Linked DNA regions of Homo sapiens: all the other regions are linked to region 1. The links are contacts of gene promoters, found by promoter capture Hi-C in blood cells and fetal thymus (Javierre and others, 2016). All regions are on one chromosome and are shown on one strand. Each heading gives the region's core, a stretch centred on a gene start or on the middle of the fragment in contact. The rest is flanking DNA. Distances are from core to core; before and after follow the strand shown. Region 1 holds the start of RNPC3 (RNA binding region (RNP1, RRM) containing 3). Region 2 has its middle 39 kb from the start of LINC01307. Region 3 has its middle 31 kb from the start of EXTL2. Region 4 overlaps EXTL2 (exostosin like glycosyltransferase 2). Region 5 overlaps SLC30A7 (solute carrier family 30 member 7). Region 6 holds the start of GPR88 (G protein-coupled receptor 88). Region 7 overlaps LOC102723784 (a long non-coding RNA gene).

The links. Contacts are between HindIII fragments. The CHiCAGO score rates a contact against its expected background, and 5 or more counts as called.
Region 2: a fragment that was not itself captured here is called in contact with the fragment with the promoter of RNPC3 in region 1 in 3 of 17 cell types (naive CD8 T cells, fetal thymus and total CD4 T cells); the score reaches 5.6 in naive CD8 T cells.
Region 3: a contact is called between a fragment that was not itself captured here and the fragment with the promoter of RNPC3 in region 1, in 1 of 17 cell types (activated CD4 T cells). The highest score is 5.9, in activated CD4 T cells.
Region 4: a contact is called between a fragment that was not itself captured here and the fragment with the promoter of RNPC3 in region 1, in 1 of 17 cell types (total CD4 T cells). The highest score is 5.8, in total CD4 T cells.
Region 5: a fragment that was not itself captured here is called in contact with the fragment with the promoter of RNPC3 in region 1 in 2 of 17 cell types (total CD4 T cells and neutrophils); the score reaches 9.6 in total CD4 T cells.
Region 6: a contact is called between the fragment with the promoter of GPR88 here and the fragment with the promoter of RNPC3 in region 1, in 1 of 17 cell types (non-activated CD4 T cells). The highest score is 5.3, in non-activated CD4 T cells.
Region 7: a fragment that was not itself captured here is called in contact with the fragment with the promoter of RNPC3 in region 1 in 1 of 17 cell types (naive CD4 T cells); the score reaches 7.7 in naive CD4 T cells.

The regions. Positions count from the first base shown.
Region 1 is chr1:103,524,069-103,527,486 of GRCh38, reverse strand. RNPC3 (RNA binding region (RNP1, RRM) containing 3) reads right to left here and starts at 1,788. Exons shown (of 15, transcript NM_017619.4): 1 at 1,225-1,788. The coding sequence starts at 1,416. It overlaps RNPC3-DT (RNPC3 divergent transcript), which reads left to right and starts at 1,979. Exons shown (of 4, transcript NR_168321.1): 1 at 1,979-2,091. RefSeq lists an enhancer at 1,337-1,576 and a silencer at 1,897-1,996. The HindIII fragment of the contact is 7,657 bases long and covers 1-3,418 here.
Region 2 is chr1:101,282,478-101,286,426 of GRCh38, reverse strand. No RefSeq gene overlaps it. Among named protein-coding and RNA genes, the nearest start is that of LINC01307, 39 kb to the left of the region's middle. The HindIII fragment of the contact is 2,118 bases long and covers 1,045-3,162 here.
Region 3 is chr1:100,862,266-100,865,671 of GRCh38, reverse strand. No RefSeq gene overlaps it. Among named protein-coding and RNA genes, the nearest start is that of EXTL2, 31 kb to the left of the region's middle. The HindIII fragment of the contact is 1,099 bases long and covers 1,368-2,466 here.
Region 4 is chr1:100,879,735-100,883,499 of GRCh38, reverse strand. The region is part of intron 2 of EXTL2 (exostosin like glycosyltransferase 2); the gene reads left to right. Among named protein-coding and RNA genes, the nearest start is that of EXTL2, 13 kb to the left of the region's middle. The HindIII fragment of the contact is 1,625 bases long and covers 1,345-2,969 here.
Region 5 is chr1:100,902,701-100,906,645 of GRCh38, reverse strand. The region is part of intron 2 of SLC30A7 (solute carrier family 30 member 7); the gene reads right to left. Among named protein-coding and RNA genes, the nearest start is that of SLC30A7, 8.6 kb to the right of the region's middle. The HindIII fragment of the contact is 1,210 bases long and covers 1,238-2,447 here.
Region 6 is chr1:100,535,949-100,539,465 of GRCh38, reverse strand. It overlaps GPR88 (G protein-coupled receptor 88), which reads right to left and starts at 1,327. Exons shown (of 2, transcript NM_022049.3): 1 at 964-1,327; 2 at 1-572. The coding sequence starts at 499. RefSeq lists enhancers at 1-53, 206-605, 54-903. The HindIII fragment of the contact is 8,214 bases long and covers 1-3,517 here.
Region 7 is chr1:101,298,824-101,302,477 of GRCh38, reverse strand. It overlaps LOC102723784 (a long non-coding RNA gene), which reads left to right. Exons shown (of 6, transcript XR_947643.3): 5 at 3,256-3,469. Among named protein-coding and RNA genes, the nearest start is that of LINC01307, 23 kb to the left of the region's middle. The HindIII fragment of the contact is 478 bases long and covers 1,388-1,865 here.

The DNA.
Region 1 (3,418 bases), core at 539-3,038:
TATCATATAAAGACACACGTTTTACACATGCAAATAGTTCAAAAGACCAAAAGTTTAAAGACCTGTTCTACACAGAGGGTCACTTTTAACCAACTAAAAATTTATTTCCTTCATTTATGACAGATCTAAAGATTTTAAACTTTCCTCTATACATAACAATGCGTAGTTTAAAAACATTCACCAACAGAGAAATCGTTCTTCAAGGTGCATATTTCCTTTGTGCTTTATCTTTGTAATAATGTTCAATGGGAGAAGTCTATTTTTAAACATAAATTATACGGATTTTAAAAACCATCAGAAAAGAAACACAAATCAACAGTAAAAGAATCACTATGCTAAGGAAGAGCTCTGGTCAATGCTTATTAAAAGTTACTTTAATAATTATATCGCACATTCTAATTTTGTCTAATCTGATACACGATGACCTGATGTACTTAAATTGAGCCATATATAATTTTTTTTTTTTAATTTGCAGGCATAAGTGACATTTAAACTGATCAAAATTGGTCTTTCTTCTAATTCAGTAACTCTCAACTTGGGCTGCACATTAACATTAAAATCACCTAGGGAAACTTTAAAACCACTGAGTCTTGCACCATCGCTATTCCTATTTTAATGAAGAGAAATCTAAAATATCTTTGGATATAAAGCAAAACAAAGTAATTGTGTAAATTCCTACACAGGTACTCTTAACAGCCCTAAAAAATTGTTCCCTAAAAGATGTCATCGGGAAATTTTTATGAAAAGCCTCTTTTTCTAGTTGAAATTCTGCATTTAATTTACGCAAGTCACCAATGTAGCTTCTCCTCTATTTTAATGAACGATTTAACATTGGCTTATAAATGAAGTAGGACTTTAAAAAATCCCTTGATGCACATTTGTAAGAATACTCTTGAGTCCAGGAGAAATAACCCCAAATTCAAAAAAGTTGTGAGGCTCTCAGGATGGATCCGAAAACTCAATATAACTAAGCTAATTTCCATTCTTCTGCTTTGTCGTTCTCACTTGCCCTTTTCTGCAGTGCTATGACTAATCCAGACTCGAGCCGATTAAAACTCCACTTCGCAGAGCAGATATTTTGATAAAAAAGAGGTAGGATGGGGGAGCTCTCATCACACAAGTCCATCTTCCCCACTCGTTTCCATTTTACTCTTGTCAGCGCTCCCCCTCCCCGGTCACTTCCCAAATGCCTTCCCGGGAGACTCCGGAGGGGCGCGCCCTTACCAGTCGCCCCTTATCTGACAGGACCCGCACAGACTGAGCCCCGAAGTACTTCAGCAAGTCCTCTTTCTCCTCAGCAGTAAGCTCAGCCGGCAGGTGCCTGACCAGAAGGGTTCGGTCGCCCCGAGGCGGGGAAAGCGAGGAGGAGCTCGTGCATCCCCTTGATATCGCAAGCGGCTGCTCGGGAGCTGCCATTTTCCTTGGAGAAGCAAAAACAGAAATCGTGGGAAGAAGTCTCAGTCAAAATCGCGGCATCAACACAAGCTGGGAGAAATATTTTTTCCGCCTCGCGCTAAGGATTCTGGAAACCAGGAAATACCGAGAAAGAAAGTCACCTTCTCGCGAGAACTGCGCCACCGAAAAGCGGCAACCCTTCGAAGACTCTTCGGGGAAGGGCGCGGTGCTAATGATTTAAATTCCAGGGGTCTCCGGAAAGACTTACAAGCAAAAATTGGCCCAGAGATGTGCGAGGGTTAACACAAGTTGTCAATCAAAGAAGGAAACAGGAACCCCAGCCACTTCAGGGAAAGAAGGTTGACGCTCAAGGACAAGAGGACTCACGACTGCGCATGTGCGGGCTGGGACCGTCACAGGGCGGGGCGGGGCGCACGGCGGGGCGGGGCGCACGGCGGGGCGGGGCGCACGGCGGGGCGGGGCGCACGGCGGGGCGGGGCGCACGGCGGGGCGGGGCGCACGGCGGGGCGGGGCGCACGGCGGGGCGGGGCGCACGGCGGGGCGGGGCGCACGGCGGGGCGGGGCGCACGGCGGCGAGCGCTATCTGGAGCTGACCGTGCGGCTCTTAATCCCTGGCCTTGGGAAAGTGAATTGGCCTGAATAGCAAGGAGGAGAACTTGGGTGTGGAAATACCGGGTATGTTCTTACAGTATTTAGATGGTAAAATATAAAGCTAGCCAGTTATTCTGTCAACTCATTAGACACCATTGTAGGGAGGAGAACTCAGTTTAAGGGGCAAAACGTTGAGAGTTCAGACTTTTTTCTTGAATCAGTAGGCATTTAGCAGACGGATAGGCCCCTGCCAGGGTTCATTTCGCAGAAATGGCAGCCTCTAGGGAGAGGTAACCTAATAAATAAATTATTGCATGTGTGTGTATGTGTGTGTGTGTAGGGGTGTGTGTGTGTGTGTGTGTGTATGTGTGTGTGTGTGTAGGTGTAGGTACTTTTCTCCCTATTTTACAGCTGAGGACACTGATGTACAAAGAGGTTAAATCACACAGCTAGAAAGTGGAAGAACTAAGTTTTGACCCTTGGTGTTCTGACTGGGGGTCTACATTCTAATCCACTGTTCTGCCTAGATTCTGAATGGAGTGAGGCAGGGATCATCCCCGGAGGGTCAGGAATGTACCCCTCACCCCATACAGAGAGGGCCTTGAGGATTCTAAAGAGAGGTTTTATGCTAGATGTAGCTGCTACAGTCTGGAGAACCAGAGTTCCTCTTACAGTTCTTTTTGCCACTTAAATAAATGTTAGAGATACAGCAGTAAGCAGTATACCAGCAATCTGCTGTCATCCCGCATTGGTTGGGGAAAAGGAGAGAGACAGATATTAATGAAAACTAGAAGACAAACATGAGAAGAACCTTCCCCACACACCCACCAAAATATCAGATAGGTAGAGCCAGACCACGTAGACGCTGTAGATTTGTTAGGAGCCCTTTTTATTTGAGGAACATTTAGAAACTGACAAATTCTTTAAGTAGGTGTGTGTTGAGGGGAGAGAATCAAAGTTTAGGTATGAAAATTTCTCCGGTTGCAATGCAAAAAACAGAAGCAGAAAGACCAGTTGGACTACTGTAGAAGTCTGGAGAAAAACACTACCATAATAGTTTGGTGAAAGTGGACATGTAGAGAAGGAACTGGAATTGAGATACGTTTTAGAAGTAGTTGATAGGAACTTGCAGATGAAGAATAGTAAGCAAGGATAAATTCTGGATTTTTGGCTTAAGCTAGATATTATCCATCTGTAGATGATGATGCCATTTACTGAATGTGAGAAGATTGACCAAGTATAGCTAGGTTAGAAACTGTAGTGGGACATTGGGAATAGAGGAACATATATTAAGTTTAAGGTATCTATTCAGTATCCCTGTTTCAAGTAGGAAGTTGAATGTGTGTGTTTGGCATTCTTGGGAAAGGTTACCACGAGGTATGGCATCAACCTATATGGTATTTATATCTGA
Region 2 (3,949 bases), core at 854-3,353, 2.2 Mb after region 1:
GAGAGCAGAGAAGTCGGCTACTTCTTTGTGTGGGCAATGGTTTCCAGTACAGTGTCCTACTCATGCTTGTATTTCTTCTGACTCAACAACTCTGCCAGAATCTCCTCCACATGGACTAAAGGGAGGCAGGATGATTTAGAAAAAGCTTTTTATAACATAGGACTAAAGGAATACAAGTCTATGAAAAATTAAAACTAAGCTAACAATTCCACTGTCTCCTAAAAGTACTAAGAGGATATATCATAGGGTACAGGATAAGCTCTAGAGTCAGACAGCCTGAGTACATAGCTTTGCTCCACCCTTAACAAGTTGTCTCACCCTGAGTAAGCCAACTTACTTGAGAAAATATTAATAGCACCTAGTTAAAAGGGATTTTTATTTGTTTGTTTTTTACTGTGGTAAGAGTACTTACCATGAGATCTGCCCTCTTGACAAATTCATAAGTGCACAATACATTAATGTTGCACAGCAGATCTCTAAAACTTATTCATCTTGCATAACGGAAACTGTACACTCATTAGAACATGAAGGTTTTTTTAAGAAATTCTACTTTGAAATAACTTTAGACTTACAGTAAAGTTGCAAAAATTGTAGTTTCTATATACACTTCACCCAGTTTATTGAAATATTAGTATCTTACATAAATGTAATGCAATTATCAAAACCAGGAAATAGACATTGATACAACAATATTAACCAAATCTACAGACCTTGTTTGAATTTCACCAGTTTTCCCACAGATTTCTTTTTTTTGATCCAATCCAGGATCTCATATTGCATTTAGCTATTATATCTTCTTCATCTTCTTCAATCAGTGATAGTTTTGGAAAATCCAGGACAGTTATTTTCAAAATGTCCCCCAGGTTTTCTCATGAATAGATTGAAGTTATGCATTTTTGGCAAGAATGGCACAAATAGGATATTGTGCCCTTCTCAGTGCATCATATCTGGAGGTACATGATCTTGGTATGTCCTATTATTGATGAGGTTATTCTTGACCACTTGGTTAAAGTGATGTATGTTGGGTTTCTCCACTGTTAAGCTTACTATTTTTTCCCTTTGTAATTAGTAAATATCTTTTAGGGAGATACTTTGAGACTATACAAATATTCTATTTCTCATACTTTCACCAACTAATTATAGTATCCATCCATGGGGCTTGCCTACAGCAATTACTACTATGGCATTTGCCAAATATTAATCTTCTATTTTTCTGATTCCTTCTACATGTATCAACTGAAATTCTACTGTAAGGAAGAGCTATTTCTTCTTCCCTATTTGTTTATTTGGAGGCATTTTATGAGGATTAAATGAAGTAGGACATTTACATGGTGTCTGGCACACGGTGAAGGCTCAGTAGGTGTGAGTCATCTTTAATATTATTATTACTGAGACAGTATGGAAGTTATGTAACTAATTGTTATGTGACTAATATTTTCTAGTTAGAAATGAGTATTTCTAACATGTTTAAAGGTGTTCCAAAATGGTCTACTATATTAGTTTGCTAGGGCTGCCATAACAAAAGATGACAGATTGAGTGGTTTAAACAACAGAAATTTATTTCTTGCAGCTCTGGAAGCTGGAAGTCCAAGATCAAGGTGTCAGCGGGTTTGGTTTCTCCTCTCTCCTTGGCTTGGAGACGGCCACCTCCTTGCTGTGTCTTCACGTGGCCTTTCCTCTGTTATGTTGGCACCTCTGCTGTCTATCTGTGTGTTCTCATTTCCTCTTCTGCTAAGGACTGGTCAGATTGAATTAGGGCCACGCTAAGGGCCTTATTTTAGCTTGTTCAAGTCTTTAAAGGCCCTGTGTCCCAATACAGTCACATTCTGAAGTACTGGGGCTTAGAGTTTCAACACATGAATTTGGGAAGGGGGAGACGTCATTCCACCCATATCTACCTATTTGCTTTGAAAAACTATTGTGAGCAAATCATTTAACATGTGAAAGCACTTTCAGAACTGGAAAGCACCGTACAAACATAAGGCAATAGTATAACAATACGACAAATTTTGGTAAGCATTCATGCACTTTACATTTCAGGTACTGAAGCATTCCTTTACAATGTTATTGCCATTATTCATTTAACTTTCCTTTCACGGCTGCCACGGAACTCTGGAAGGCCCACTTCAACCCGGGCACTGTCTGTGTTATCGCACATCCTCAGCGAGTGTCAACCACATCAGTGTGTTTTGCTTGCTTTTTGTCTTTCTGAAGCGTGGGCTTTCAGCAGCTCATTTCAGGCTATCCCAGCTACCTCTTCAGAGGCCCGAGGCACCTCCTTCCTCACAGGGAAAGCTGCCTGCGAGGCGGCCGGCAACCGCCTCATTTCCCCGTCTACCAGCTGCGTAGCCTTGGGCAAGGCCCCTCCGTGCAGCACTTCGTCCCAATTCCACGGCTGAAAAAGAAGGATAACAATCCTCACAAGGAGGCTGAGGATTAATGAGTTAATCTTTATAGAGCATTTGGAGAGCACACAATGGACAAACCCCTATTTATCTCTTTGTAGAACTAGCCTACAAACTAAACTCCCACTAGGAAACTAGGACCCTTTTATATAATGTTTACTTGAAGGAAGCAATCTGCAGATTCTAATAAATCTTAGCTTCCCAGAAGTGGGAAAAAGCACACATTTCACTATATCTGAGTAAGTAAAAAAGTAGAACAATTTCTCCCCACCGAAGGTTTTGCTTATCAGAGGCTAACAGAGGCCAGGGAGAAACTGTGACCTGTGGTCTGCCTTGCCTGTCATGGATAAGGAAGAACCAGAGACTCTCCCCAGGGCTGTCAAATGTTTTTAGAGCTGACATCCTTGCGGTCCACAGCCTCCAAACTCAGAGCGTGTGGGAGGAGGGGATGGATACAATTTAATTGCCTCCTGCAACTTGCCAAGCCCACCACCATTTTCCCAGGCTAGCAGTAGCCATTCCTTGCTTAATAGTAGTGCTTTCAAGCCCTTCAGAGACAGGAGTACTTCAGCAGCCAAAGTGGGAAGTCCTTCTTCCAAGTCTTCCAAGGCCTTTGGCCACTGCCAAAGCACCCCAGAAAAGTCTGTCTGTAGGAACTGTCTCTGTTTACCATGTTGCATTACCTCTTTGCTCAGAATCAATCACTCCACCTGTGATTGATTGCCAGGGGCCACCAATACTGCTTTAGGGGGAAGCTTTTCTCCACACCACATCCCTTATTTTCCTTGCCTCACTCCCAGGCAATTTTCACCACAGGTCTGGCAACAGCCTTCTAAATGATCTCCATAATTCTGCTCCCTAATCCCTACTGCATGGTCTTCCCTGCTCCTCTCCACCTATCCAACTTCTAAATCTGAAACAATAAAATCTTACAAATCCCACCTCTATTCTCATATCCCTTGGAAGTTCTTGTTTAAAGGATCAGTAGAGATTAGCCAGGCCAAGAGAATGCCTGTGTGTGAGACGGGGCGAGGAGGGAGAGAAGAGGGCCAGAGAGCAACAGGGACTGCAGAACAGCACATACAAAGTCGTGATGTGAGAACGTGGCTCACGTATGCAACTACTCGGGACTCAGCAAAACTGGAACCTAGAAGGAAATAAAGCTGGCGAGGATCAGCAAAGCCAGGCCCCCTGTGAAGGAGTTTGGACTTTATCTAGGAGAAAGTGGGGGCCATTGAAGGGTTTTAAGTACACAAGTGTCACAAACAAGTTTGCATTTAAGAAAGATTTCTCTGGCAACAGAGCGGAGAATACATTAGAGGAGAAATACTGGAAGCAGAGAGACCATCTGAGAGGCTGGTACAATTATCCACAGTTGATGACAGCAAGGGGTAAGAAGGAGAGGGGATGTTAACTTCAGCAGCGTTACTCAAAAGTGTTGTCCTTGGGCAAATGCCAACTTCTGGACCAATGTCTGTCCTCCAACTGTTTTTCCTGATCTGTTATGAGATAAAGAACTTGTGCCAGAATGTAAAGTCAAGGCA
Region 3 (3,406 bases), core at 668-3,167, 2.7 Mb after region 1:
ATTACAAAGAAAACTAATTGAATTTAAATATAGTTATCAAAATATTTAAAACTATTTATAAGATCTAGCAGCAGACTTAAAATAACTTATAATTTCATAAAAGTGAAGAGTGTAAATGATATTTTGAGAAATCTGCGACAACTGTAACATGATATGAAAAAATATTTTTGACAGTCACAGGTACTGCTGATCTTCTGTAGTTTTTGCCTAAATTCACAATTGGTGAAAATGCTAGATTTCAGTCGAGTGAAATTGAAGTTGTAATTTTTTTCTGAAATTACATAGATCCCTTAAATTCTATTTGTGAACCACTTGAGGTGGATCTATGAACCCAAGGTTAAGGGTTAAGAACCCCTGGGCTGAATACAGGTTAGGATGGTGGGAAACAAGGAGTTATGAAGGGTGAGGGAACAAAAGGATTTTTCTTCTACAGACAGAGTTTATCTCTCTCTCTCTCTCTCTCTCTCTCTCTCTCTCTCTCTCTCTCTCTCTCTCTCTTTCTCTCTCTGTCTCTCATTCTCAAACTCACAATATTGGCCAGGTGTGGTGGCTCATGCCTACAATCCCAGCACTTTGGGAGGCTGAGGCAGGAGGATCACTTGAGCCCAGGAGTTCAAGACCAGCCTGGGAAACATAGTAAGACCTTATCTCTAAAATAATAAAATAAAATAAAAATGGAACAATAAAGCTCACAATATTCACTTCCCCACCTCTCATTTTTTCTTTACCTCATTACAATAGGGATTATATCCCTATCACTCCCTAAAATCATCCTTTTCCAAGTCTTGCCTGATATCTAGGCATTACACAGTCTGGTGGGTATGGCTTGGTTCTTACCTTATTTGATTTCTCTTTGGCTTTTTCACTGTTAACTACTCTCTTTTCAAATGTCTTTCCTCCCTTTGACTTCACTTTTTCTTTTTCTCCTTTCTCTTTGTAGGCTCCTTTTTAGCCTCCTATCCTGTCTTCTCTTCTTCTGATGGTGGATATGTCCCTGGAGTTCTACCTCTATTTTGCTTCTCTTCTCACTCTGCACACTTTCAATGAAATGCTTTATCAATCTAGTCTATGTCTCTAGCCCAAGCCTCTTTCCTGAATCTAGATCTCTATATTCAACTCTCTATGAGATACTCTTCTGATATGTACCAAGTATCCCTCAAACTCAACGTATCCAAAATTAAACTCATCCTCTTCCCCTCCCTGGTTCTTTGTTTTCATTTCCTACTTTGGTGAATGACATTACAATCCAAAACCTGCCCGACTCAAAAGTCTAGATGTTATTTTTTACTTCATCTTCTCTCACACCACCAAACATAAAATCAATGGCCAAGTTTTAAAGATTATTCATCTTTAAGATAGCTCAAGCTTGTCCCTTTTTCCCAGCTCTACTATTACTGCCTTGGATATTCTAATAGCTACCGGCAATCGTTGTTTCTAATTTGTCAAGTATTATGCCAAGTATTTTACACATGCTGTCTTATTTAATTCTCATATTATCCCCTGAGGTAAGAATCATACCTATAATTACAAATGAGGAAACAGAAGCCAAAGAGGGGTAAGAACTTGTCCAAAGTCATAGGGATTCTAAATGGCAGAGCCTGGATGGGAACCTCAGTCTGTTGGACTGCAAAGCTACATGCTTCCTTGTTGCTCTCAGGATCTCTGGTGTTCCTCACCTACACTCTACTCATCACGCTACCACTAAAATTCTTCTCGGAGGCAAGTCTGATCACCTTACTGTGCTGCTTGTGATTTTTCAGTGTTCTTGAGAATCTTCACCATAGTGCTCACACTCCTATCCTGGCCTTTATTTGGTCAGGCCTAATGAGCTCAGACCTCCCAACCTCTCCAGCCTCCCCTCTAACAACCATACAGCTTGTGCTCCACACCCAGGTGCTTCCCACCCCACCCACACACCTCAGTTTCCCACTCTGCTGTATTCATTTGCAAGGGCTACCCTAAAAAGGACCACAGACTGGGTGGCTTAAACAACAGACATTTATTTTCTCACAGTTCTGGAGGCTGGAAGTCTAAGATCAAGGCGTCAGCAGGGGCAGTTTCTTCTGAGAGCTATGAGGGAAGATCCGTTCCAGTCCTCTCCCCTTGGCTTATAGATGGCTGCCTTCTTGTTGTGCCTTACATGGTCTTCCCTTTGTGTGTACAACCCTGATGTCTCTCTGAGTATCCACATTTCTTCTTCTTATAATAAAGACATCAGTCAGATTAGATTAGAGCTCAACCTAACAGCCTCATTTTAAGTTAATTACCTCTTTAAAGGCCCCATCTCCAAATACAGTAATATTCTGAGGTACTGGGAGTTAGAGCTTCAACATATGAACTTGGGAGGGGACACAATTCAGACTCTAGCACCCACTAACCCAGCTAACTCTCACTCACCCCTCTGGATGCATTTGCTCATGTCACCCTCCCTAGGAAGTCTCTGAAGCCCTAGATCTGAGTTAAGCTTCCCTCTATTGTAGCACTTCGTATTCTATATTGTAATTTCCTTTTTACTTCTCCAAAACCTCCATTGGATCTAACTCCTTGAGGGCAGGAGCCGTGTCTTATTATTTATTTTTCTAGCCACAGCCCCCAAACCCCAAAGCTGAATCACATAGGTGTTTAATCAGCTAATTAATCAGACAAAAATATATTGGTTCATATTTTCCAGATCCTTGTTTTGGTCAGGCACTTTTCAGGAAATTAATGTTAAAGTGGCAAAAGGCAAACAAGTCCAAATAAAGCCCCTCCTCTCATGGAGTAAATATTTTCACAGGAGGACAATAAGTTGGTGAAAATACGTGATATAATCTCTGGCCCCGATAAAGAAAATAGAGTAATGTGATGGAGAGTAGCTATAGGAGACTTCTTTCACTGGTGGTTCAGGAAAAGCTGGAGGAGGATGTGAGGTGTGGTTTGAATGATGAGTTGTTAAGGCATGCTCTGTGGGAAGAGAATTTCAGGCAGAGAGAACATCAGGGGCAAAGGCCCCAATATAGGAATAAACTTGGCAAGTTTGGGGGATGACAAGAATGCCAGAGGACTGCAGAGCAGTAACTGAAGGTGAGAGTAGAAGGAAATAATGCCAGAATCTTGAGCTGTGGACTAAGTACAAAGGAAGCCTCTGAAATGTTTTCACCGGGGATGGGATATGACGATTCATATGCTTAATAAGATCACTCTGGATGCTGTATAGGATGTAGATTTTAGAAGGGCAAGAGTGGGACAGGGGGACAAATTAAGAGATTGCTGGCACTAATTCAGAGAAGTGGTTCTCAACTGGGAGTGATTTCGACCCCCCCAAGCCCCATAAGGGACATTTGGCCACGTCTGGAGAGATTTTTGGTGTTCATAACTGTGTAGTGGGAATGTGACTAGCATCTGGTGGGTAGAGAGAAGGGCTGCT
Region 4 (3,765 bases), core at 908-3,407, 2.6 Mb after region 1:
GTCATATATTGTATGATTCCATTCATATGAAATATCCAGAATAGGCAAATCCACTGAGACAGAAAATAAATTAGTGGTTTCCTGGAGCTGGGATGGAGGTCAGGGGTTAAGGGAAGTGAAAATAGGGATTGGCTGCTAATGGGTCTGGGGTTTCTTTCTGAGGTGTTGAAAATGTTTTAAAATTAAATTGTGGTGATGGTTGCAAAACTCTGTGATTATATTAAAAGCTACTGAACTGTATACTTTAAATGGGTAAATTTTATTGTATGTAATCTCTCCTTAAAGATACTAAAAAACTCCAACATAACAAGTATAATTTTTTATATTATCTTGCAGGTTAGTGACAGTCTTCCTTATTAATTTTTTGACACATCCTTGCAGAATTTACCCTAGCATAGTGGAAAGAGTTGTGGACTGTGCCATCAGAAGGTTTAGAGTCTTCTCTTGGTTCTGCTGCTGATTAGCCACATGCAGCTGCATGACCTTAGGCAAGTTCCTTATCCCCGGACCTTGAGTTGTTTATCTGTGAAACAAGGAAACTGGCTAAGGAGGACCCTGAAGTCTCTTTCAGCTCTCTGAGTTTCTGTGTTTGTGCAATAAGTCATATAATTATGTAATTATTGGGGCAGTATTTTTTAGTTGGTTTGTTGTGTTTTTTGTTTTTTGTTTTTTTATGAGATGAGAGTCTCACTCTGTTCCCCAGGCAGGAGTGCAGTGATGCAATCACAGCTCACTGCAGCAGCCTCAACGTCTTGGCTCCAGCTATCCTCCTGCCTCAGCCTCCTAAGTAGCTGGGACTATAGGCATGCACCACTACAGATGGCTGATTTTTTAATTTATTTGTAGGAATGGGGTCTCATGACATTGCCCAGGCTGGTCTCAAGTTCTGGGGCTCAGGCAGAATCCTGCTTTTGCCCCCGTAAGTGCTGGGATTACAGATTTGAGCCATCATGCTGGGCCTCCCGGGGCAGTTTTAGAGACAGGGCTTTGCCCTTTATTGTTTGAGTATAACTAATGGCAGTAGGATTTTCAGAAGCCACCTCTCTAGTAGTCCTCATCATGATGTTTAAGTGTGTTTTATTAGGCAACCTATATGTAGATCAGGGTTTCTCAACCTTGGCATTATTGCCGTGTTAGGTCAGATAATTCTTTGCCATGGGGGGCTGTCCTGTGCATCGCAGGATATTTAGCAGCATCCCTAACATCTACCCACTAGATAGCAATAGTATCTCCCCTCTAGTTGTGACAATCAGAGATATCTCCAGACTTTGCCAACTGTCCCTTGGAAGACAAAATCATCTCTAGTTGAAAACCCTTGGTGTCCCCAGCAGTGGTCCCCAAGCTTTCTGGCACCAGGGACCTGTTTTGTGGAAGACAATTTTTCCATGGATGGGTGGTGGGGGATGGTTTTGGGATAAAACTGTTCCACCTCAGATCATCAAGCATTAAATTCTCATAAGGAGCATGCAGCCTAGATCCCTCACATGCACAGTTCACAATAGGGTTTGCACGCTTGTGAGAATCTAATGCCACAGCTGATCTGACAGGAGGTGGAGCTCAGGTGGTAATGCTTGCTTACCCATTGCTCACCTCCTGCTGTGCAGCCCAGTTCCTAACAGGCTGCAGACCAGTACTGATGTGTAGCCTGGGGATTGGGGACCTCTGGTGTAGAAGACGCTAAGTAACAATGTATCAAAATAACTAAAAGGATGTGTTCTCTACCTATAAAGAACTAATGAATTAATGTGCAGAAAATATCATTGGGGGAAATCTTGGATTTTTTTCGTTCATGAGGAGAAGAGGAAGGATTTTTGTTTTGTTGGCATTTACTGTATTTATCAAAGTTATATTTACTGCAGTCATGGGGATGGGTGAAGGACAGAAGGGGAATAGACTAAGAGCTGTCAGATCCTTTTTGGAATGAGGCAGGGTGTCAGCAAATATATAAAGACATAACTTAAAAAATGAAAAACCAAAACCTAAAAGGGAAAGTTTAGGAAATGAGGGCAAGAGAACTGAGGTGCTTATGTTTACTTCTTAGTTCTTCCCAAGTACGACATAGGTCATCCAGATGTGTTTTTTCTCATATCTCTCATTCAAAGCTCAAAGCTGCAAATTAGATGATAGGTTCTTTCTCTAAAAGAAGAACAGAAGAACGCCAAAAACTGTGAAATCCTTCTAGCCATAAAGTCATCATTATTCTCCAAATTGTACTGAAGCTGTTTCTAATGGGCCTACAATGGAGTTCTAGACCTCAGCTATTGTCAAAGTACAGTGTGCCACTTGCACTACAGTCTATAAAGTCCTTGCTTTTCGTACTTTACTATGCAAACTAAAATTTACATAATTTTATTGGGTTGCATTATTTAATAAATACCTCATGAAATATTTACACTATGTTTCTAAAGACATAAATTATTCATATCTCCTGAAACCTTTCTGATACAGGTAAAATTGGGGGATTAGGAGCTATCTGAAAGGAAATGTCTGTGATGGATACAGGGGATAAACTCCTACTTAAAAGAATACATGAGAAGGAAGCAGTCACTCATGAGTGTCTTCAACGGTGTATATTTATAGTAAGCTATAGTAATTAATCTTATTACTTTTTCTAGATTAAAACTGCTAGATAGCAAGTTATTAGTGTCTAGAGATCAGAAACACTTCTATGTAAGTTTTAAAATGTGCTATTCCTACTCAGCTGCAGAAAATGAATATAAAGATCTTAATCATGGTATACTATAATGCAGTTAGTCAAAGTGATTGTTTATTCTCAGTACTTATAACCAGTCATTTTTATGTAGAACTGAAAATATGTGTTATGGGACCTACTTTTCCTTCAATATTAAAAGGATTTTCAAGGACTTTGAACCAAGATTGTTAATTCGTAATGATTTGTCCTTGACCACATTAACATTACATGTTTTAGTAAGAGGGTAGATAAAATGAAAACATGGTACACTAAAGCTTTAAGTTATTATCCTTGTAAAATAATCATGGAAAAGCTGAGGTTACCTTGAAAATAATTTATTTGTTTATACCTTAAGAGTGAGGCCGTGATAGAAGCAGAAACACAAAATTGCTCTTTTTAATAGAACAAGCTGCAGAGAAAGTCCAGGAGAGATACCCTTGAAATCACTCTCAAAAGCTTACTCTAAAGGTGACATTACTTTTCAAATCTGGACTGTTGAAAAGTGAGAGCTGCTGAATGACAATGATCTTCTCCTTGTCTTTGTGAACAAACTCTTCCTTTGCTTGCACATGCCTGAGCATACTGTCCTATCATGGAGAGTATGCTCTTGTCCTTCTTTGCAATTCTCTAAACTTAAACTTCAAAGGAAAATGTTAAAGACGGGGTATATATGATCTCTCTATGTCCTTGAACTATAGAGAGGAAACTTTCTACCATTACAAAACACACACCACAACATGAAACAAGCTTACAGGAATATGATGGTTACTAACCCAACCACTGCCAAGTCTCCTCAGTGAAAAACAAAATGTTGAGTAGATATCATTAGGAAAGTAAAATGAGATTTAGTTTGGAACAGAATATTCCAAAACTATTCTATTCTATTCCAAACTAAATTTAGACTACAGTCTTAGGATTGCCTATGGAATGATGGCCTAGCTTCAATTGCCTGACTTTAGCCACAAGACATGAAATCAAGAGCTTAAATATTACTATGTAAGTATACATACAGTTCACTTTTCCAAGAAGAGGGGGAGTACCAAAAATAAAATGTACAGAGGCAGTGTTATACC
Region 5 (3,945 bases), core at 593-3,092, 2.6 Mb after region 1:
TGCTGCGAGAGAGGTAGAAACAAAAACCATCTGCTGCTGGGTGAGGGGTAGGAATGTGACCACTCCTTGGTCACTTGCAAAGGTCAGCTGCCACTGAAAGAGAGGTAGGAAAAAAAAAGCCATCTACTACTGGGACGAGGCTGATACCTGCTTGCACCCAGGATCTTACAAAGCAAAGGTCTGCTTTTGTTGAGTATCCTGCTCCACCCTTTTGATACCAGGCTGAGGACAGTGGGGACAGGCTGGGAGAGAGGGAGAGCGGCAAGATCATTAATACTCACCCTGACACTGAGGTGCACAGGCTTGCCTGACTAGGGATACAACAAGAGAACCTAGTCCCACCCTCCCCACCAAGTCTTGAATAAAGTATAAGGAACAGCAAACTACCAGTGAGAGCACAAAGAGATATGTGCAGAACTTGCTAAAAGCTGAGAGTGGAGCAAGAACCCTGAAAAAATCCTGCAGTACTCCAAATCCAATACTAATCACAAAGTAGTAGGAACCACTGAAAAATTCAAAGACTGTGATTTGTGGAAATCAGCAATAACAAAACACAAAACCCAGCTCAACCCCAGTTTGACTACTGAGCAAATAGTTTCGAAAGTCCCATACTAACGGCCAAACAGAAAAATAGGTGTGCCCATTTCTGGACATATACAGTCTCTATTATTCTTTTAAACAGAATGTCCAGCACTCAATGACAAAATCAAGAAAGAAAAAAAGAGAGACTCATTGTTAAGAGCTACAACAGTCAACAGAACCAGAAATGGCCCCAATGTTGGAACTATTAGATAGGACTTTAACAACAAATACAATTAATATGTCAAAGGATGTGGTATAAAGTCAGAGAAAATTCATTAACAAATGAATAATTTCTGCAGATAAAAACTATAAAAGAATATAATGGAAATGATAATTTTTTAAAAATTACAATATGGAGGAATAACAGTCATGGGCTTCTGAGCAGACTGGACACAGAGAGAAAGAATCAGTTAGGTCAAAAGAAGTTAAACAAAGTGCAACACAAAGAGAAAAGAGAGTGGAAACAAACAGACAAACAAAAAAAGCAGAGCATCCCAAACCTGTCTGGACGTATCAAACATACTAAAATACATGTATTTAGAGTCTCAGGAACAGAAAAGAAAAAAAGAAAGGGATAGGAAAAGTATTTAAAGAGAAAATGTTTCAGAGTTTTCTGAAATTCATAAAAGAAAATAAATCACAGATCCAAGAAGCTTAATGAACCCAAGCGAGGAAAAAACCCTCCACACGTCACAAACCACTAAACATCAAAGAGAAATAAAAAAATCTTTGAAAACCAGAGGGGAAGAAAGAGAAAAATTAAATTAAAAAAATAAAGATAAAATTTATAGCATGTTTTTCTTCAGAAACTATTCAAGCCAGAATGCAATGGAGCAACACCTTTAAAGTATTGAAAGAGAAAAAAAATACTGTCAACAACCTAAGGTATGACAATAATAGCACACAGAATGGAATAAGAAAATCAAAGTGTATTATTGTAAGGTTCTTATCAGATACATGAAATGACATATTATTTGTGATAATTTAAAGATTAATATTATACATACTAAAGCACCCACTAAGAAAAGCCACCAAAAGAAGGGAAGGAAATCCTCTACCAACACAAAGCAGACGTTCTGCTACCACTGAGAATGGAGAAGGAAAGTTGTCTCCATCCAGGACCATAAACATACACACAGTAGAGTTTGGCTATTACAGGAGAAGGAGTAAAAATGTTGACAAAATCATACCCCTGAGGTTGAGGCTTACAGAATCTACCAAAGACAGAGGCTTTGGGTTAAAGTTAACAAATACCCCTCTGCCTTCACCATAAACTGGGTACTGAGTAACAAGCAACAGCAGTCTATAGCTTGGGCAGGAGTAAGCGCATGAAGAAAAGAGCTTCTGTGGCACAGGCACCATACAGAGATTACTAAAAGCACAAAGTCCAACCAACTAGTGGTCTGACAGACAAGGCATACCTATTTCCGATCATAAATACTATTACCTCAGTATCTACTGTTTTTTACTCATAATGTCCAATATTTGATAAAAAAAATTTCAAAATACACAAAGAGCCAAAAAAAAAAAGAAGTCACTGTGGAGAAAGCAGTTAACAGAACCAGACCAAGATATTGACCCAGATACTGGAGCTATCATAAACTCTAATTAATATGTTAAAGGATCTATGGAAAAAGTGGACAAAAAAATATGAACCAGTGGGGAATTTGGTAGAGAAGTGGGAAATATAAAAAACAATCAAATGGAAATACTAGAAACAAAAAACAAGTTATCAGCGATAAAGAATTCTTCCAATTGGCTTATCACAGACTGGACACAGCTGAGGAAAGAAATCCGTGAACTTGAAGAGAAGTCAATAAAAATGTTCTGAAAGCAATCATCAGTTCAGTCTTTAAAAACAAGCTTCTGAAGTCAGAGTACCTGGGTTCAAATCCCAGCTCCAAATTTACTAGTTCCGTGACCAGTAAGTTACTTAACTTCTTTGTGCCTCAATTTAGCCATCACTTCAATAGAGTATAGTATAAAAGTGTCATAATTGTTATAATAATTGAGTTAATATATATGAAACATTTACCACAATGCTTGTCACATTAAAACCACATTAATATTCCTATTGCTAATTATTAATAAATCACATTATTAATTATTAACTATTATTAATGCTTATAATACCTGGTGTTCCCAAGCACAACCCATACCTCTTAATATTTGGCTAGATGCTAGAGTTTTCATCAGTTGGAAGTGCTACAAACTAAAAGTCAAAAACATTCTTCACACATACAGAAAAAGCATGGTTTTAAATTTTTCTCATAATTTGGAATAATTATATAATTAGAAACTAAGTCAAAGCACATCATTTACCAACAAGAAAAAGCACAATAATTTATAAACCTCTGCCAAATCATTACAAAAGATTTTAGAAAATGTCTTAAACTTTTATCATGAACCTTATTTATTCCACTGAAATATAGATATATTAGAAAGTTTAAGTGCAGATAGTACTTTAACCATCTCATCTGACATCTAACTCAAAGCAGAATGAGAATTGGTGAATAAATGATAAAGCAGAATAATAAAACTGATACATGAGGACAAGGTAAGGGGCATATTATTCATGCAATTCTCTTAGATTTAATATTTTAAGATTTGTCCTTGTATAGTTAGATTACCGAAAATTACACACTTGAACCATAACATCTATGTAACATGGAAAATAATGATTTAACTTTATTTTGAAGTATGAAAGACTCATGTGAAGAATTTCTCTATACTGTGATAAAACCATTAATAAAGACATTGTCTATGATTTTGTTTTCGATCCCCCAAGAAAAGATTAATATGGCAAAATACTGTTAAAATTTGATTTCAGAAAACTGTCTTTCTACTCTGATAAAATGATAGAGTTGTGTTCACTTTATGGAATTTTATAACTAAATTTAAAAGTCAATTTTGGGAGCTAAATTAGACTATATATTTAATAGATTAATTTTTTCCTCCCTAGGTATGGTTTCTAAATGTTTTTATTTCTTAATGTGTTTTATTAGTATATATAGCTTTTATTTTAAATTACTGTAATCAGTTTTAGAAGGCAGGGCATTCATTGTAAATAAATATAAACAAACATTTACTGATTTATTGATCTATATTTTACTATCTATTTCACTATTATTTAGTAAAACACTGTCATGGGTTGAATTGTGTTCCTGCGCCCAAATTCATATGTTGAAGTCCTAACCTCTAGTACCTGAGAACGTGACTTTATTAGAAATGGACTCATTGCAGATATAATTAGTTAATATTAGGTCATTAAGGTGAGCCCTCATCCAGTGTCCTTATAAAAAAGAGAAATTTGGAAGAAGATACATAGATCACAATGCGAAGATAAGGCAGAGATCAGGTGAT
Region 6 (3,517 bases), core at 78-2,577, 3.0 Mb after region 1:
CCCAGGACAGCGCCAGCATGCCCGCCGTGTGGCGCCTCTGGTACAGCGCCTGGTAGGTGGCGGGCGCCCGGGTGATGAGCAGGTAGCGGTTCAGGGCCACGAGGCAGTGGGAGAGGAGGGACACCGTGAGTCCGAGGCCCAGCAGCCCACCCCGTAGCAGGCGGTAGCTGCCCCCAGCGCCGTCCCAGTCTGCGGGGGGCTCCGCAGAGCCGGTGGGCAGGAGCCCGAGCACCGCCTCCTGCGGCATCCAGAGGGCGCAGACGCTGAGGTCGGCGGCGCAGCCGTTCACGATGAAGGCGTTGCTGGTGGTCTGCAGCTTTCGGAAGGACGACACGAGATAGATGACCATGCCGTTGGCCAGCGTGCCCCCGATGGCCAGGCCCGAATACAGGAGTGACACCGGGATGCGCCGGCCCGCCCACGACTCCTCTTCCTCGCAGAGCAGCAGCAGCGAGCCACCGGTGGTGGAGGAGGTGGATGTGGAGGAGGAGTTGGTCATTCTGGCCAACTCTTCACACCTCCCTCGCTAGCGTCGGCTTCTGGCAGCGCGGTCCATCCTGACACTGTCCTGCCTGCCAGAAGGGCAAAGACATCCCTTCAGCCCTCTGCCACTGACACAAAAGGCTGAAGCAGAATAATGGGCTGGGGGAGGGGGAGAAAGGGAGCTCGAGGAGGAGGACGGGGGTGGCAGATGACAGGTGCCTGCCTCGGAAATGTCTCCAGAGCCAGGGGAAAGGCCACTTTGCATTGGATTCAGCAGGTATCGGGGAAGCCCTAGGACAGAGCAATACCTAAAACAGTCTCCTCTTCTCCCCCAACACACACACACACACACAGAGAGAGAGAGAGAGAGAGAGAGAGAGAGAGAGAGAGAGATATGTTGCCAGCTGGAGGACCTAGTTCCAGGAGAAAGCAGAGATATCCCAGCTGGGGAAAATCCCATGGGAAAGAGGTGAAGGTTACCTTGCGTTTAGGCTGGTCCTTAGCCGGTGTCTCAGGGGGAGGGATGCCGGGAAATACCTCCTCAGCAACAGCATCAGTGGTCCAGAAATCAACAGGAGAAACTCAGCTGGGATCAGTGCCAGGAGCAAGTGCCCGCTTCTCCCAAGCAGCATCCACACACATGGTCCTGGGCAGGAACTAGCAGCTGCAGGGAGACTTCTCAGCTGGTATCAGGGCTGGAGAAAGTAAAGTGGCGGGCTGCAAGCCCAGGCGGGTGGGCAGGCAGGCAGCAGCAGCAAGAATGCTTGGCTGCAAAAGCAGAAGCTGAGCTCAAGAGGAGAGCACCCTGTGCTCAGAAGCAGGAGTGGTGGCTGATGTGGTGAACCCACTCGAAGCTCTCTCCTGCTTAGTTATACATCATCCAGGGAAAAGACAGCCTTTCCACGCTTGGCATGAATTATTCAATAGCTTCCAACTTGTAAAAGGAAGAAAAATATCTTGCTCAGAAAGTCCTGTCGTTAACAAGTTTCTCTGTCTTTTCTCTCTCCCAATCACCTTATTTTTCATCCTGTTTCATTTTTCTTTCCGTCCTTTTTTTCCCTCCCTTCAATATTAGAATAAAATTTAATATACCCTAGAGTATTTCATCTCAGTCTGATGCATTTTGTGGGCAAGATTTTTCTGTGAGATAAATATATTCCCAGTACCCAGGACTGATCTCTTTATTCCCACATTTTTTAACGAGAATTACTTTATGCACTACTTGAAATTCATTTTTCTTTGGTAAAGTGGAACATAGACAATTATCCACAGAAAATCTCCATTCCTCAATTTAAATCGTACTTTCAGTGTTTTCTCATCAACAAACTCCTTTCCGGAGTTTGTTTTGTGTTTTAGTAATGAAATGGTTAGAGGGTAAAAATGAAATGGGCAAAAGATTTAAAGCAGATGTCAGTGGTACATCTAGACAATGGAATATTATTCAGTGCTAAAAAGAAATGAGCTGTCCAGCCATGAAAAGACATGAAGGAACCTTAAGTGTGTATCACTAAGTGACAGAAGCCAACTGGAAAGGACTACATACTGTATGCTACCAACTATGACATTCTTGAGAAGGCAAAACTATGGAGACAGTTAAAAAGACCAGTGGTTGCCCGAGTTAGGGGGAAAGGAGGAATGAATAGATGATCACGGAAGATTCTTAGGACAGTGGAACTACTCTGTATGATACCATAATAGTGGATCTGTGTACTTATAAATTTGCCCAAAGTGGCAGAATGTGAAACATCAGTGTAAGCCATGGACTTTGGGGAATGATGTGTCAACGTACATTCAATTGTAACAGACGAACCACTCTGGTGGGGGATTTTGATAATGGGAGAGGCTATGTATGCGAGGGGCAGGGAGTACATGGGAAATCTCTGTATCTTTCACTCAAATTTGCCATGAATCTAAAATTGCTCTAAAAAAATAAAGTCAATTTTAAAAAAATGTGTGTCAGGGGGAAAGCAAGAAACCTGAATAATCCACAGTGTGAACAAAGATGACTTTTCACTTCAGAACTTTTTGTCTTGTCTGTCTTGGAGATTTGCAGTCTGATGTTGGCATCTTCTTTGGTGCAAGTGTTCATTTATCCATTCCATGTGGGAATTTTTTCAGAAAAGGAGTTCTCTCAATTATTCACTGGAAAAGTCATGTATTTGAAAATGTAACTCAATATGGGAATATGGTAACATGGCATAATAGAAAAAAATGTTAGGTGGGGTTGCAGCACACCCAGATACTAAGCCGAGCATCCATCATGTAGCCTTGCGATGGATTATTTTCATCTTGTCAAATAAGTTCACAGTCAGTCACTTCAAAGGCCCTTTCTGTTAAAACTTTCTGTGAATCCCTATTCATGAATTTAGCATTTCTTCTCTCTAATTATGACACATGGCATATACCTCTTCTATCTAACATGCATTGCAGTTGTAGTTCTGGGTCATATGTCCCTAAGAGCAATGTTTCAGGAGAGAGGTCAAAACACAGCTTCTCTGCTTTTCTTTTTCTATTTCAAAATCAATATGGTTAGTTGATGACTTCAAGAACTCTGATGAGGATTAAGGATAAGCATGACTTGATAGATTTGGTCCAGCTAAGCTATATCTGAATGAAATTGGTTGGGGCAGGGGCAGGGGCCGGAGGGGGAAGTGAAAGAAAAGAACCAGTGACTTGCTATTCAGAGGGTTGAAGGTTTCGATATCAAGTTTACTGATGTAAATGAGATGAGTATTTGTCATCATCTTTTTGCCTATTGCCATTTGTCCTTATTGAGGTTTTGAGTGCATTAAGCACAGCAAGCCTGCATTTCTCCTTTCTAGTTATGACACATGGCGTATACCTCTTCTCTGTAACATGCATTGTAGTTCTGGCCCATATGTCCAGGAGTCTTTTCCACTCTGTCCCTAAGAGCAATGTTTCAGGAGAAAGGAGACTCTCCTAATCATTCATAGTTAAAACTTGCCATTGAAGTAAAGTTTTTTCTCTCACATTAACATAGTCCTAAAGGACTCTCTGATAGAATGTGGTGGGA
Region 7 (3,654 bases), core at 377-2,876, 2.2 Mb after region 1:
GTGCTGAGAGCAGTGCCTGACACATATTAAGCACTCCCAAAGTGTTCGCTATCATTTTTACTGTACATTAAGAACCAAGCAGGGCTGGGTGCAGTGGTTCATGCCTATAATCCCAGGGCTTTGGGAGGCTGAGGTGGGAGGATTGCTTGAGGCCAGGAGTTGGAGACCAGCCTAAGGAACATAACTTCTCTACAAAAATTTTTTGTCAATTAGCTGGGCATGGTGACATCACCTGTAGTCCCAGCTACTTGGGAGGCTGAGAAGGGAGGATCACTTGAGCCTAGGAGTTTGAGGCTGTAGTGAGCTATGATTGTGCTACTGCACTCCAGCCTGGGTGACAGAGCAAGACTTCATCTCAAAAAAAAAACAAGGCTGGGTGCGGTGGCTCACACCTGTAATCCCAGCACTCTGGAAGGCTGAGGTAGGCGGGTCACTGGAGCCCAAGAGTTAAAGACCAGCCTGGGTAATATGGTGAAATCCTGTCTCTACAAAAAAACACAAAAATTAGCTGGGTATGATGGTGCATGCCTGTAGTCCCAGCTACTCAGCGGGTCTGAGGCGGGAAGAGGACTTGAGTTTGGGAGGTCAAGGCTGCAATGAGCCATGAACACACCACTGCACTCCAGCCTGGTTGACAGAGCGAGACCCTGTCCTCCCCCAACACACACACAAAAGCAAAACAAAAGAACCAAGCAAAATCAACGCCTGCACTGCACATTCTAGACACTCAATAAACAGGAATTGTCTCTCTCTCCACTACTCTTTTGGCCAACTCCAGGGGGAAATGTTAAGCAACGTTATTCAGCACTAGTTATTTGTCAGCTCCTCTCATAAATCAGGGTTACAGCCAAAGACAGCACTCTCATCTTCATGGGCCTAGGCTTCTCTGTCTCATTTTACAATGGAAACATATCAAATGTGGCTGACCCCAAGCCCAAAAAAAATGACCTCTAAAGCACTCCTGACAAAAAATACACATCCCTATAGCCCACCTGGCTCCAAACAAAAAACACACATCCCCCACTCACTGACCCACACATGTGCTTCCAATCCCCATGATTCCATAATTCAACAAATACTTGCAAAGCACCTGCCATATGTAAAGCCATAAGAGGAACACAAAGAAGAAGTCAGCGACCTGCCTCAATGACCTGATTGTTAGTAGGGGAGAGGAGAAACAAAAGACTGCAAGCATTAACCACCTTGCAAGATAAACTGAGTGCTAAAGGAGAAACGCAGTTCAGTAAGGGGTCAGAAAAGACTTCAGGAAGGAAGTGAAGTTTGGACTTCATCTTAGCTCATGTGTGGAATTTCAAATGGGAGTGATGTGAATGGGGAATTCCAAAAGGAAGGAAAGTGGGAGTAAAGGTTTAGCTGTTGGAAAGCTTGGGGAAAATACCAGGAAAAGTATGTCGTCTCACTATATGTCATATCAGGCAGGAACTTGGGATAAATAAAAAGTTGGCCCCGGGCGTGTTGGCTCACACCTGTAATCCCAGCATTTTGAGAGGCTGAAGCAGGCGGATCACCTGAGGCCAGGAGTTCGAGACCAGCGTACCCAACATGGTGAAACTCTGTCTCTACTAAAAATACAAAATTTAGCTGGGCATGCTGGCGCACACCTGTAGTCCCAGCTACTCAGGAGGCTGAGACAGGAGAATCCCTCAAAACCAGGGGGCGGAAGTTACAGTGAGCCGAGATTGTGCCACTGCGCTCCAGCCTAGGCAACAGAGTGAGACTCCATCTCAAAAGTAAATAAATAATAAATTTAAAAACCTAAACGTTGTAGATAAAATGTTAAGGATGTTTTAGGGCAGAGCTGAAAGAACATCAGAATATATTTAAAGTGGGGAGCCAATGAAGCTTATTGAAAGGCAAGGAGGTGACATGATCAAAGCTGGTCCTTGATGGTAAATCCAATGTTATGGAGGCTGAATTTGAGAAAAGAGAGAAAGGAGTTAGGTGACTATCACAATAGTGTAAGTGAGAAATTAGACTGTTTGGTGGAAGGAATGGGAGAAGAGAATGACATTGGATACAGTATCCACAGATCTTGACCAGTGATTTAATTTGAAGTTGAAAAGAGAAAGAAATCAACAATGAGCCCCGGATTTTACACCTAGCTGCCTGATGGAACAATGAAACAATGTCTTCTGCAGAAGTGGGAAACAGGAGTCTGGTTCTGGCAAGAAATAATGACTTAGGTTTATCCCTCTGAAAGAGCTAGTACTGCCTCTTCTAGGCATCCTTCTATGAAACTGCAAATAGTGGGAATTTATTTTCTCAGCTTTCTTTATTTACAGGAGTCCCTATGAAAATCATGGAGTCTTGGGACTTCTGAGGCAAGAGGAAAGACGGCAAAAGCAGAGGCAAAGACAGAAATAAATCTTCTCTTCTTTTCTTCAGTTTGTCTGACAAGCTTATCTTTTGATCACGAGGGAGAAAGAAATAGATGACAAGAGGAGTTTCCCCCACTACAATATAAGTTCCATAAAAGCAAGGATTTATATTTTCTTTCTCTTTTGTTCACTGATGTAACCTCAGTACCTTGGACAGTCTCTGGCAATAGGGAGAGCTCAGTAAATGTTTGTTGAATGAATGAATGATCTCCTTCTCTAGGCATATGAAGAAATAAGGAAGAGTGGTCACTCACAGCTAACTCAAGATTCCCCTCCCACCCCAATCATCTACCCTGTTAATTCTTTTTCATCCTTGTTCAAAAAATACCTAGAGGCTGGACACGGTGGCTCGTGCCTGTTATCCCAGCACTTTGGGGGCCAAGGTGGGAAGATGGCATGAGGCCAGGAGTTCAAGACAAGACTAGGCAACATAGGGAGACCCCATCTCTACCAAAAACAATTCTTTTTAATTAGCTGGGCATGGTGGTACACACCTGTGGTTCCAGCTACTTGGGAGGCTGAGGTGGGAAGACTGCTTGAGTCCAAGAAGTCGAGGCTGCATTGAGCCATGATTGAGCCACTGCATTCCAGCCTGAGCAAGACCTTGTCTCAAAAAAAAAAAAAAAAAACCCTAAAAATAATTCTCAAAGAGCCCTGCTTTGTATTATCACACTCTAGCAAAGTTATCAGGAATTGACACTTGCGGGTAGATACAGCCAAGGAAATGGCAGCTCCCTGAAGAGCAGGAAGCAGTTTATGACACCAAGCAAATCTGGTTTCTCGCTGGGAAGGGAGGCTGGTTTTGGAAGTATGCAACAATTTGACTTATTTTCTTAATTTTATTTTCTATTTATAGGCTTACTGAATTATTTTCATCCATGCCCTTTTAAAATATGGTTGGTAGAAATTTGCCATTTGAGACTAGAATCCCATTCGGAATCATGTAAGTCTCTTTTGACTCCACGAGGACATCTTTCACCCAGTTTTGGGAAATCTGAGGAATGGATTCTTCTACAGACTGATAAAATATCACAAGGTCCAAGAGTTTGTGTGAGAAAGAGGACATCAAGGTAAAATTTTTTAAGTGGATAAAGATGGAGAAGTAGAAGGATGTTATTCAAAAGTGTAGTTTATGATTAAGGTTGGTCGTGACATCAGAAGCCTTTAATATCAGGCCCACCCATCCGGATTCATTAAGCAGATTGTGTCTTATCTTGCATTTCTGTTTCCTGAGACTTAATCATGGTTTCCTCAG